Regions from separate parts of the Homo sapiens genome. Here all the other regions are linked to region 1. The links are contacts of gene promoters, found by promoter capture Hi-C in human tissues and cell types (Jung and others, 2019). All regions are on one chromosome and are shown on one strand. The core of a region is centred on a gene start or on the middle of the fragment in contact, and the rest is flanking DNA. Distances in the headings are between cores, read along the strand shown. Region 1 holds the start of KCTD4 (potassium channel tetramerization domain containing 4). Region 2 has its middle 48 kb from the start of GPALPP1. Region 3 overlaps TPT1-AS1 (TPT1 antisense RNA 1). Region 4 overlaps GPALPP1 (GPALPP motifs containing 1).

Region 1 (3,047 bases), core at 477-2,976:
ATGGTAACCAGGCAGGTCTTGAACCCCTGACCTCACGTGATCTGCCCACCTCGGCCTCCCAAAGTGCTGGGATTACAGGCGTGAGCCACCGTGCCCAGCCAACTAAACGTACATTTATAAGTTTTAAGATAAAATGTTTAAGGCAGATAGGAACTGCATATTGATATCATTTTTATGATTTCCCATCTTTTAATGTAACTGACCAATTACTGGTTATTCCATATGTGCTGTAGGATTCTTCTGTCAAGTTGAATATGTTAAAGGTCATAAAATAGAAACATACAAGAGTACTGGGATTAAACACACATGTACTTGCACACACACACACACCCACTCAGATGTCTAGCTAGAGATCAAGAAGAGTTTTTTGTTTTGTTTTGTTTTGAGATGGAGTCTCGCTCTGTTGCCTAGACTGGAGTGCAGTGGCGCGATCTTGGCTCACCGCAACCTCCGCCTCCTGGGTTCAAGCGATTCTCCTGCCTCTGCCTCCTGGGTAGCTGGGATTACAGGTATGTGCCACTGCGCCAGGCTAATTTTTGTATTTTTAGTGGAGATGGGGTTTTGCCATGTTGGCCAGGCTGGTCTTGAACTCCTGACCTCTGGTGATCCGCCCACCTCAGCCTCCCAAAGTGCTAGGATTACAGGTGTGAGCCACCACGCCAGGCCAAGAAGAGTTTTGAAGAATAAGCAATGATTGTGCTGGACCTTGAAAAATGGGTAGGATTTAGACTGGGGTGGGTGGGGGTAAGAAGGAAGAGTACTGAAGGTGGTAGGAATGGCCTCTGTGTGTCTGTGCTTGCTCGCTCTTGTGCTTGAAATGTTCAACTAAGGGGCTCACACCACCAATTACTAGAAGGACATGGTCTTGCCAGCACTCTGCAGAGAAGCCACACAAACTCATCCTACCAAAGGCTTTGGAATGGCTCAATTCATATCTTTTCCTTGGCCATTTGCTCTTCTTTGGATTCTGGGAAATAGTATGGGATTCTTTCTAAATTCTCCCCCGCACTCCTTTTTTGGCTAGATTGGTTTGTTGACTGGTTTCTGCTACTTGCAACCAAAAGAATCTTATTGAGTATGAACACACATCTTTGATGATGGTAATTTATGTATATCCCACCACCTAAAATCAGAAAAAACTCGAGAGAAAATTTTAAAGGTTATGTATATAAAGCACATCCTATAAAAAGAACTGAAGGCTTCTAGTTAAGATTCTGTCACTAAACAGCAGTGTTACTTTGGAGAAGTTATTTTACATCTCTGGGCCTCAGCATCCATAATAATGATATTACTAGAATGTCTGAGATCTCTTCTAGGTCTCTTTCACTAAATAAAAATGCTAGCCTTCCTCTCCAACTGGGGATGTTTTATTATTTCATTAGTGTTATTTTGTTTGCTCTAGTACTTTCCAAAAGACCTAGATATAATTAAATTTTCTTTGAATAGAAAGAGAATAACAAAATGTTAAGAAGCTGCCCAAGGCTTGAAAATATTTAAATTTGTGCTCTATGCTGGATTATCCTGCCCTATATCTGAACTTGACATACACTCTATGTCAAAGAACTGAGGAGAAATGATACTGGCACTTTTTTTAAAAAGTTAAGGGCATCCCTAGTTTGAAGAAGTTAAAGGAATAAGCAAGCAGCAACACTGCTTATTAGCATTGGCATGTAAGTAATGAAATCAAGTATGTTAGGAAGTCTTAGGCATCAGGAAGTTACACTCATTCATTTCCACAAGACCTTCTGGATCCAGCTGAATGTGGAGGCCTTTAAGAGAACTTCCAGCTCCTGTAAAAACCCAGACCAGAGGACTACTGACCAACATTTCAGGCTGATCCTCCAGACCTCGAAGTTACTCTCCTTACTCTCCTGACTCTTAATTACATCACACCTGTGTCGACACTCTCTGGGAAAAGACTGAAGAAATAATCTTTTCAAGAAGCAGGTACATTTAAAAGGCAAACCATTTTTAATATTCCTAGTAGTCTCCTTTCTTCTCATTTAAAATATGTTCCTAGAAGTTTTTTTGCCTGTGGTTCTGAGTTGAGGTCTACTAATAAAAGGTACTAGCATCTTAACAAACCAGTTAGGCAAACTTTCTATCCCTGTATTATTAAAAAGCTGCTCTTTACTTGTGAAGTAATATTCTGATCTCTATTTGATCTTCAGGAATTTTGCCACGCATGGTGGCTCACATCTGTAATCCCAACACTTTGGGAGGCTGAGGCAGCAGCATAGCTTGAGCCCAGCCTGGGCAACAAAGTGAGACCCAGTCTCCACAAAAAGATAAAAAAGTTAGCCAGGTATGGTGGGGTATGCCTGTGGCCCCAACTATACGGGAGTTTCCTAAGGCAGGAAGATCACCTGAGCCCAGGAGGTTGAGGTTGCAATACACTCCAGCCTGGGTGACAGAGCAAGACCCTGTATCAAAAAATAAAATTTAATTTTATAAAAGTTATAAAATAATTTGCCTAATTTTAACATCAAGCAGCCACATTGTTTTGTCTCTCCCTCTCTCTCTCATCTCCCTGCAAAATTCTTTCCCTCCTCCCTGTCTGTTAATTTTACTTTCTTGTGATACGGAGGGAATAGCTCACAGAGCTGCTCAAATATTTCATCAACTATAAGATGCTATCATTTGTAATAGCAACCATTATTTTACGTGCCACCAAGACAAAATACTGCTGCTAAACTTTGACAAGCTAACGATATTAAGATGTACCTCAGTTATAGAAATGGTAAATATGAAAAAAATGTGTGATATGATAGAGTTCTCCATCCCTAGTTTATAACTCCTCCCTACTCTGTAAGAAACCACATTTGCTCCCTTGAGCCATCACATCCTGTTCTCCTGTTCAGATCCTCTTCTCTCTTCTCCACACCACCTCATCACTGAAGACACAAGCAGATGTTAAGTGATGAGAAAATCAGAAGGAACAGTGGCAGGCGCTAGTATACGGTAACAGAGACCCTCTTTAGTCATTTACTTCCTAACTGTACTACCTTTACAAGAGTTTTCAAAGTTATGCCCTTCATTTTGAGATT
Region 2 (3,067 bases), core at 432-2,931, 160 kb after region 1:
CACATACTTGTGCTCTAGCAGCAAGGGAGCCTAGGAAAATGAGTTTTGCCTTCTATCTTTTGAATCAAGAGGCTCAGTGGCCACAATCTGACAACCATCCAACATCTTTGATTCTAGAAATCTTAATCTTGATTCTATTAATGTTAGACTCTAAACTGTGGTTTGACTGCAAACATTTTAAGCTTTAAGAACCTCTAGAAATGTCATGTTCAGACCAAACCAAGTTGGATTCTCATACTTCAGGGTACACAGAATCACCTGGGCAGCTTGCCCAAAATAGACGGCCCAACCATCTATTGGGCCCAACCCCAAACCTATAGATGGAATCAAAACTTCTGATTGGCTGGGCATGGTGGCTCACACCTGTAATTCCAGCACTTTGGGAGGCTGAGGTGGGCAGATCACTTAAGACCAGGAGTTTGAGACTAGCCTGGCAAACATGGTGAAAACCCCGTCTTTACTCACAGACAATAGCCTGGTGTGGTGGTGCATGCCTGTAGTCCCAGCTACTCAGGAGGCTGAGGCAGGAGAATCGCTTGAGCCTGGGAGGCAGAAGTTGCAGTGAGCCAAGATGTGTACCACTGCACTCCAGTCTGGGCAACAGAATGAGACTCTGTCTCCAAAAAAACAAAACAAAACAAAATCCTCTGGAAGGTTAGGGCATCTATGTTTGTAATAAGCTCCCAGGGGATTCTGATTCACATCAAAGTTGGAAAGACATCGATTTTGCTGACTAAATTGGTCATCATTTTTGTTCAACTATCACCTTCCATTCACCTAAGCCTAGATATTACTCAGTTCTGGTAAATACTCAATAAAGATGCAGCCCCACTGTGTGTTCACATAAGCTCACTGGAAAGACTATAAATGTGATTTTAAAAAGCTCTTTATGATTTGCTGGTAGAAAGAAATATTCTGAAACCATCTTTTCATGTCATTTTCTTAGAGGCAACACAGTATAATGGATTGATTAGCATCTTACAAACTGACAGGTTAAAAGATAGTTTTAAATCTTTATTGATAAACTGTCATTTGACTGCAAGCATTTTAAACTTTAAGAATCTCTGTTTTCAAATATGACAATTTTATTAAGCAATATACAAGGCTGTTAGGGAAAAACACTAATTTAAATTCAGTTAAAATGAATACTAAAGAATAAGCACAATTTCTAGATTTATTTGCTGGTCAATATTAAGTTAATTATGTCTGTACCTGTTATAAAAATTAGCAATCTTAGGCTGATGATAAATTGCTTTTGTTAAGTGTGTAGTGTGAATTAGGTATTATAGTATTATTTATCCTTAGGTTAGCAAAATGTGTTGCTTTCAGCCATTACCTAAAAAGACAAAAATCATCATATTATATACATAAGCAACTTCATTTGTTGTTTTGTACCTAGTGATAAAAAAGGAACAAGTTTATTTTCATCTCAGAGCTCTGATTGTATGAAGATAAAACTAGGACTAAATACTTTATCATATAGCCTGTTTGGCCAACATTACCCCATCATAAAGAAAACAAATGGAAGTGCTTTAAAGGGCAGGACAGCGGTAAGTAATCAGAGATATGAAAATGAACTTTGAAATACTTTTCAATATTCTTGAATAGGTTCTCGAAATTTGTCTAGATCTCAAAACAATGATGCACCCTTGTAGCTTTTATTGTCTTTCCTACCTAGTTCTGCAGAATTTTATTGCTTTCTTTTTTTCTCTTTTAGAGATGGGGTCTCTCTGTCTCCCTGGCTGGAGTGCAGTGGCATGTTCATAGCTCACTGCAGCCTTGAACTCTTGGGCTCAAGTGATCCTCCTGCCTTAGCTTCCTGAGTAGCTGGGACTACAGATGCATGCCATGCCACCATGCCCAGATAATTTTTAATTTTTATTTTTTTGTAGAGACAGGGTCATGCCACGTTGCCCAGGTTGGTCTTGAACTCCTGGCCCTCAAGTGATCCTCCTGTCTTGGCCTCTTGAAGTGCTGGGATTACAGATGTGAGGCATTGTGCCTGGCCTTTTGTTTCTTTTTAACATTCTTTTACCTACTGTTATCTTTTCTTTGTCAGCAAATACAGAAACTGGTATCTAAAAGTAAACTCAGTTGCTTCTGAAGTTAATACCTTAGCTGCCAAAGCACAGTTATCTAAGACCTCAAAGTAACATTAACTGGTTAATTCCCCCAAGGAAAATAGTCATAAGGTAGAGACCATCCTTTGCAGATCATCTATAGCCCACCAGTGCTCCCTTTTTGTGCTCCCTGCCTTTTCAATGTTCTGCATTCCTGAGGCATTCAGTCTTAAATGGCCCCAAGTCAGCCAGGGACAAGGAACTACAATCTGACTATTCCTCTTAGGGACTTATCTATTTTAAAAGGTGCTGAAGAGAGGGCAAAGTGCAATGAAACTGAATTATCAATGGCAGTAGAATCTTGATCACTGTAGCAACTGGCTGGTAGATGTTTGAAGGGTGAATGCTTTTAGGCATTCACTCAAGAGAAGTGACAATCCATTCTTCAAGAGGCAAGTATTGCTGGTGCTGGTGTTTGTTGCTATGCAAAGTAAAGTGATTATGTATTTAGGAATATATAATAGGAAAACAGAACATATAACAAAGGAGAGGGGATTGTTTATAGGAACACATGTAAGTGCGGTGGTTATTATTTTTTTAAATTTCTTTTTAGAGTCAGGGTTTCACCATGTTGGCCAGGGTAGCCTTGAACTCCTGGCCTCAAGCAATCCTCCCACCTTGGCCCTCCAAAGTGCTGAGATTACAGGTGTGAGCTACCTTGTCTGCCCATAAATGCAGTGGTTCTTAAACTTGAATTTACAAAGAATGGCCTGGGATAATTGTTAAAAGTGAAGATGCTCTGATTCTAACCCCAAAGATTCCTATTCAATAGGTTTGGGCCTGGAGATCTGCATTTAAATGAACTCCTAGGTGATTCTGATAGAAATAGTTTAAGGATTACAAATTAAGAGACAGACTGATCTACTGTATTTTTCAGTCCCTAAGTAAAAACATTCTGCTATGTCCAGAATTCTAGAGACTTGACTAATAATTGTTGAATTCATCTG
Region 3 (2,974 bases), core at 291-2,790, 150 kb before region 1:
GCGCCTGGCCAACAATTTATGCATGGCCCTCCCTTAGCTTGTTTCAGGTATATATGCTTATTTCTTTGGTGCATTTTCCTTATATATTGTTTACATATGATATAAATACTTCCCCATACTTTATTTGCATTATTATGTTTGGTATCTATGAGAAAAAGAATATTTTGGATATTAAATATGAAACATTATTGGATATTAAATTGAAACAATTAATGCTATAGTTCCCCTTTGACCACTCACTTTTCCCCAGCTGCCTCCCAGAATTAGCCACTGTTACCAGTTTGATGCATAACCTTCTAGATTCTCATGTTTGCTTTTGTAAATATATACACATAGGTAGAGCAGTCTATTGGTTTTTGTCATGTGTATCTGGGTGTTAAATGAAGGAGTGATGTTCTACAACTTGCTTTTATGATTTAACTATGTCTTAGGCCACTTTTCCTCCTCCCAGGGAAGAGCTCTTCTCTATGGTTTTGTTTTGTTTTTTTGTTTTTTTTTGAGACGGAGTCTTACTGTGTCACCCAGGCTGGAGTGCAGTGGCATGATCTTGGTTCACTGCAACCTCCACTTCCCAGGTTCAAGGGATTCTTGTGCCTCAGCCTCCCGAGTAGCTGGGATTACAGACCCATGCCACCAGGCTCAGCTAATTTTTTGTATTTTTAGTAGAGATAGGGTTTTGCCATGTCTCTACTCCTGACCTAGAGGCTGGTCTCAAACTCCTAACCTGAAGTGATTTGCCCACCCTGGCCTCCCAAAGTGCTGTGATTACAGGTATGAGCCACTGCACCCAGCCATAGGCACTGTTTAATGCACCGGGAATACAACTGTGAGCAAAAAAACTCTCTCAACCTCCATGGCACTTACATTGTCTGGAGGGGAGACAGAAAATAAAGTAAGTATAAGAAAATAACATGTTGGGGCTGGGCATGGTGGCTCACACCTGTAATGTCAGCACTTTGGGAGGCCGAGGTGGGCAGATCACCTGAGGTCGGGAGCTCAAGACCAACCTGACCAACATGGAGAAACCCCGTCTCCACTAAAAATACAAAATTAGCCGGGTGTGGTGGCACATGCCTCTAATCCCAGCTACTCAGGAGGCTGAGGCAGGAGAATCGCTTGAACCCAGGAGGTGGCGGTTTGGGTGAGCCAAGATTGTGCAATTGCACTCCAGCCTGGGTAATGAGCGAAACTCCATCTCAAAAAAAAAAAAAAAAAAAAAGAAAAGAAATAACATGTTGGTTAATTAGTCCCACAAATAAATATTAGGGATAAATGGGGCCGGGCACGGTGGCTCACGCCTGTAATCCCAGCACTTTGGGAGGCCGAGGCGGGTGGATCACGAGGTCAGGAGATCGAGACCATCCTGGCTAACATGGTGAAACCACGTTTCTACTAAAAACACAAAAAAATTAGCAGGGCGTGGTGGCGGGTGCCTGTAGTCCCAGCTACTCGGGAGCCTGAGGCAGAAGAATGGCGTGAATCTGGGAGGCGGAGCTTGCAGTGAGCCGAGATTGCCTCACTGCACTCCAGCCTGGGCGACAGTGCAAGACTCCGTCTCAAAATTAAAAAAAGAAAAAAAGAAAGAAAAACCAGGCGTGGTGGCTCATGCCTGTAATCTCAGCACTTTCAAAGGCCAAGGTGGGTGGATCACTTGAGGCCAGGAGTTCAAGACCAGCATGGCCAACATGGTGAAACCCTGACTTTACTAAAAATAGAAAAATTAGCCAGGCATGGTGGCACGTGTCTGTAGTCCCAGCTACTCGGGAGGCTGAGGAGGGAGGTGGAGGCTGCAGTGAGCTGTGATTGTGCCGCTTCACAGCCTGGGCAACAGAATGAGATCCCGTCTCAAAAGGAAAAAAAACAAAAACACAGGGATTTCCAAGAGGCAGGGATTGTAATTTTAAACATGATGGTCAAGGATAGCCTGTGGAGAGGGTGACAATTTGAGCGAAGTCTATGCCTTTTGTTTTTTTTTTTTGAGACGGGAGTCTTGCTCTGTCGCCCAGGCTGGAGTGCAGTGGCGCGATCTCAGCTCACTGCAAGCTCTGCTTCCCGGGTTCACGCCATTTTCCTGCCTCAGCCTCCCAAATAGCTGGGACTACAGGCGCCCGCCACCACGCCCGGCTAATTTTTTGTATTTTTTAGTAGAGGCGGGGTTTCACCATGTTGGCCAGGATGGTCTTGATCTTCTGACCTCGTGATCCACCCACCTCGGCCTCCTAAAGTGCTGGGATTACAGGCGTGAGCCACCACGCCGGGCCGCCTTTTGTTTCTATAGACAGTAGCTTCTTTTTCAGAGGGAGAGAAAACTGAGGTGTTTTCAACAATTTTTTTTTTCAGAGATGGGGTCTCGCTATGTTGCCCAGAGTGGTCTCAAACTCTGCCTCAAGTGAGCCTCCCACCTTGGCCTGCCTAGGCTGGAGTACAATGGCACTATCTAGGCTCACTGCAACCTCCACCTCCCGGGTTCAAGTGATTCTCCTGCCTCAGCCTCCCGAGTCGCTGGGATTACAGGCGCCTGCCATCACGTCCAGGTAATATTTGTATTTTTAATAGAGACAGGGTCTCACCATGTTGGCCAGGCTGGTCTTGAACTCCTGACCTCAGGTGATCCACCTGCCTCGGCCTCCCAAAGTGCTAGGATTACAGGCATGAGCCACCACGCCCAGCCGGCTTTTTTTTTTTTTTTAACTAGTCAAGGACAGTAGTGAAAAAGGGAGGGGAGAAAAATTTTCTGCAATTTCTTTTTTTTTTTTTTGAGACAGAGTCTCGCTCTGTCACCCAAGCTGGAGTGCAGTGGTGCAATCTCGACTCGCTGCAACCTCCACCTCCCAGGTTCAAGCAATTCTCAGGCCTCAACCACCCGAATAGCCGGAACTACAGCCGCCTACCACCATGCCTGGCTAATTTTATTATTTTTAGTAGAGACGAGGTTTCACCATGTTGGGCAGGCTGGTCTCAAACTCCTCACCTC
Region 4 (2,987 bases), core at 381-2,880, 190 kb after region 1:
AAAGTCCCCCTTCAAAGATAAGAAGTATGAATAGGTAACACCCCGTCAATCCTGTTATTTTCCTAACAGAATCTCAGGTTTGTGAACAGCTTTTTATTTCATCTACTTATGTTACAATCTTAAATTAATCTGAATATAACTGAGTCTTACATTACAGTTGAGTCCAGTGGTTGTAGTAACTGCATGCATAAAGTTTGGAGTTTGTTACAATACATCTTATTCTTTCAATGAAAACTTTCCAAACCTTAGAGTTGAAATGGGATGATGATACCTGTTGTCCTGGATCATCTCTGCCCTTGTCACTTTTCTGTGTAGATTTAATGAAACCAGGTGGCAATGCAGGACCTATTATGGGCCTGAAAAATAAAATGTACTTTTATCATTCTCCCTGACTTTAAAAAGCAGTTATAAGAATAAAAGTTCACAAAAATAATAAAGCCAAATAGTGACAAATGTTGAAAATAAGAATTTTATTTAACACTTTATTTTTACTAGTATTACCTAGTATCTTTCTGCTAGACGTCTTTTAAAAACCTAATTTTCACATTTGACTTTTCTACTTGTTAGTCAATAATTAGAGACTAAGCCAATAATTCTCAATCTTTGTGACACTGGCATATGCACACTTCCTAAAAAGAACTATATTAAATAAAAATGGCAATGTTTTAAAAAAATTGATGTACTAAAATCTGTGATGGTCTTTTTTTATTTTGTGCCTTGGCTTTCCTTCAGTTTTGAGATTCATTATCCCGTGAAAGATACCTTAGGGGCATTATAATTATGGTCAGAACTACCAAAGTAGAAATTGAGTTCTTCTAAGGACATATATAGCATGTGCAGACAATGCCAGCAATCTGTGGTCTATATAACATGGCAGTATTAAAAATCTATACATTGTCCTCAGTAATGATGTGGAACTGTAGAAGAATGCAGCTAGTTCATTAAGACCCACAGAAAGGGAAAAGGGTACCGTGCTAACCATATTTCAAGCAGTGCATCTGTTTCCTTAAAACAATCCTGGTCAGTGTAAGTCACTCCACTTTTAAGATGAGCAAAATCATGTCCAAGATTAACACAATTAGTAAGTGGCTGAGCTAGAGTTTAAACCCTGGTCTACTTGATGTCAAAGTGCATTTTCTTTCCAGCTGCCCTACTGCCAAATAATGAGGCAACTGTCATCACTTCAAAAGAGAGACTTGCCTTAACACTGGGTCTTAAAAGGAGACAGCCTTACTTTATGAAGGAAAAAATTAAAAAGATAAAAATAAAAAATAAAAAAATGCTCTCTTTCACACTTTTAAGATTCTTCATCCTTGCTTTTGTACAAATGTTTTTTCCATAGTTGTCACTGTGCCAGTGTTACCAACCCAGATGGCACTGAAGTCCTAAGCTAAAATTTCCAGGTTGCACCATGTTCTATCAGAACCCCACAGACAGGCATCCTGGCAGGGGAAATAACAGTACTGACAGTCAGAAAGTCTGGGTTCCCATCCTGACCATTTAATAATCTCTTGTCTTGATTCATGAAACTTCTTTGAGCAGAACAATTTGCTTATGAAAGACAGGGAAGTTTGGCACTGTTAAAAAGATAAAATTAGGTATCATTTATAAGCTATGAGTACAGCATAGGTTTTTTCTGAGTACAATTTTTAGCAATCTACAAATGCAATTATAGCTTAACTTTCTGGCCTCAGGGGATTGGTGGTGATAAAATTACTGGTATATAAAATCATAAAACATAGTAAAGGAATAAAACCATGGCATGTTATGATACTATAAAAGGTTTCTAACTCCAATATATAATGCCAGCTGTTTATTTTACACATACATTTTATTATTGCCAAAATAATATTCTTAAGAATAAAATTGGTATACATTTAAGTAATATGTTTTCTTAAAAGGAATGTTACATCCTAGGGGTCAGCAAACTTTCTATAAAGGGCTAGATAGTAACTCTTAGGCTTTGAGAGCCACATGTGGGTCTCTGTGGCATATCTGTCTTTGTTTTTTCAGCTACTCTCAAAAATGCAAAAATCATTTTTAGTTTGGGGACTGTAGATTGCCTATCCCTGTATATCTGAAACAACTAAAGTTAATGGAAGTTAGGAGCTGCCAAATGTGATTATAAACTTTGAATATAAAATAAAAAGCCTTTTCTGCTTGTTCTTGCATATTGGTATACAGTATTATGAATTATAAACAATTTGATGTGCGATCTTATATTTGGCATTTAAAAATTTTACAATTCTGGGAAGAAGACAGGAATAAATATTTACTATATACTTACTCTGTGCCAGGCTCCATATAAATTAAACACCCACACACAAAGTCAAGGTATGTAACTATGAAACCTCAATCATCACAATTCTGTAAAGTACATGCTGTTATCCTAGCTTACAGATAACAAATTTAAGATTCAGAGAAGTTAGTCCAATTGTCTAACATGGCACATGGGGATGTGTTTCTTCTATTGATAAATAATTAAGAAAACAACTGAATTAAAAGTCACAACATCAAGATTCTAGCTCCAGGTCTGCTACTATGTGTGTGACCTTATCTGTTTATAAAGTGGGGAGAGGGGTGATCCACCTCGTTTACCACAAAACACTTTTGTGAATATCAAATAACAGATGTGGAAGTTTTTTGTAAACTATGAAAGTGTCATAAACATGTAAATAATTATTTTTATTGTAGGAAACAACTTCTTTTCCTGGTGAATGACCCATTTCAAAATGTTATATAAATATTTCAGTTAAAACATAATTTCAGACAATTCTTTAATTCATTAAAGATTCATTAGTTAAAATATTTAAAGAAAGACTGGCCTAAAATATTACACATTATCACCTTGGAGGAGAATCATCCTGCTTTTTAAATCCAGGAGGAAGGGCTGGTCCAAAAAACCCATCATCATCATCATCGTCATCATCCTGATTTTTCCTCTGTTTTCTGAAAACATAGTAGTATAACTTTATGCATATATGTCA

The links. The method cuts DNA at HindIII sites, captures the fragments that hold promoters and counts their contacts. A contact is called where the count stands out against the background at its distance.
Region 2: a contact is called between a fragment that was not itself captured here and the fragment with the promoter of KCTD4 in region 1, in 5 of the 25 tissues and cell types used here (dorsolateral prefrontal cortex, hippocampus, mesendoderm cells and 2 more).
Region 3: a contact is called between a fragment that was not itself captured here and the fragment with the promoter of KCTD4 in region 1, in 1 of the 25 tissues and cell types used here (hippocampus).
Region 4: a fragment that was not itself captured here is called in contact with the fragment with the promoter of KCTD4 in region 1 in 4 of the 25 tissues and cell types used here (IMR-90 fibroblasts, aorta, bladder and 1 more).

What each region holds. Positions count from the first base shown.
Region 1 is chr13:45,199,724-45,202,770 of GRCh38, reverse strand. It overlaps KCTD4 (potassium channel tetramerization domain containing 4), which reads left to right and starts at 1,726. Exons shown (of 2, transcript NM_198404.3): 1 at 1,726-1,947. All of the region lies in intron 4 of GTF2F2 (general transcription factor IIF subunit 2), which reads right to left. The HindIII fragment of the contact is 9,631 bases long and covers 1-3,047 here.
Region 2 is chr13:45,035,604-45,038,670 of GRCh38, reverse strand. It overlaps a transcript of GPALPP1 not described here. Among named protein-coding and RNA genes, the nearest start is that of GPALPP1, 48 kb to the right of the region's middle. The HindIII fragment of the contact is 4,747 bases long and covers 1-3,067 here.
Region 3 is chr13:45,344,907-45,347,880 of GRCh38, reverse strand. All of the region lies in intron 3 of TPT1-AS1 (TPT1 antisense RNA 1), which reads right to left. Among named protein-coding and RNA genes, the nearest start is that of TPT1-AS1, 5.0 kb to the right of the region's middle. The HindIII fragment of the contact is 8,275 bases long and covers 1-2,974 here.
Region 4 is chr13:45,006,164-45,009,150 of GRCh38, reverse strand. It overlaps GPALPP1 (GPALPP motifs containing 1), which reads right to left. Exons shown (of 8, transcript NM_018559.5): 3 at 2,848-2,949; 4 at 272-356. Among named protein-coding and RNA genes, the nearest start is that of GPALPP1, 18 kb to the right of the region's middle. The HindIII fragment of the contact is 5,478 bases long and covers 1-2,987 here.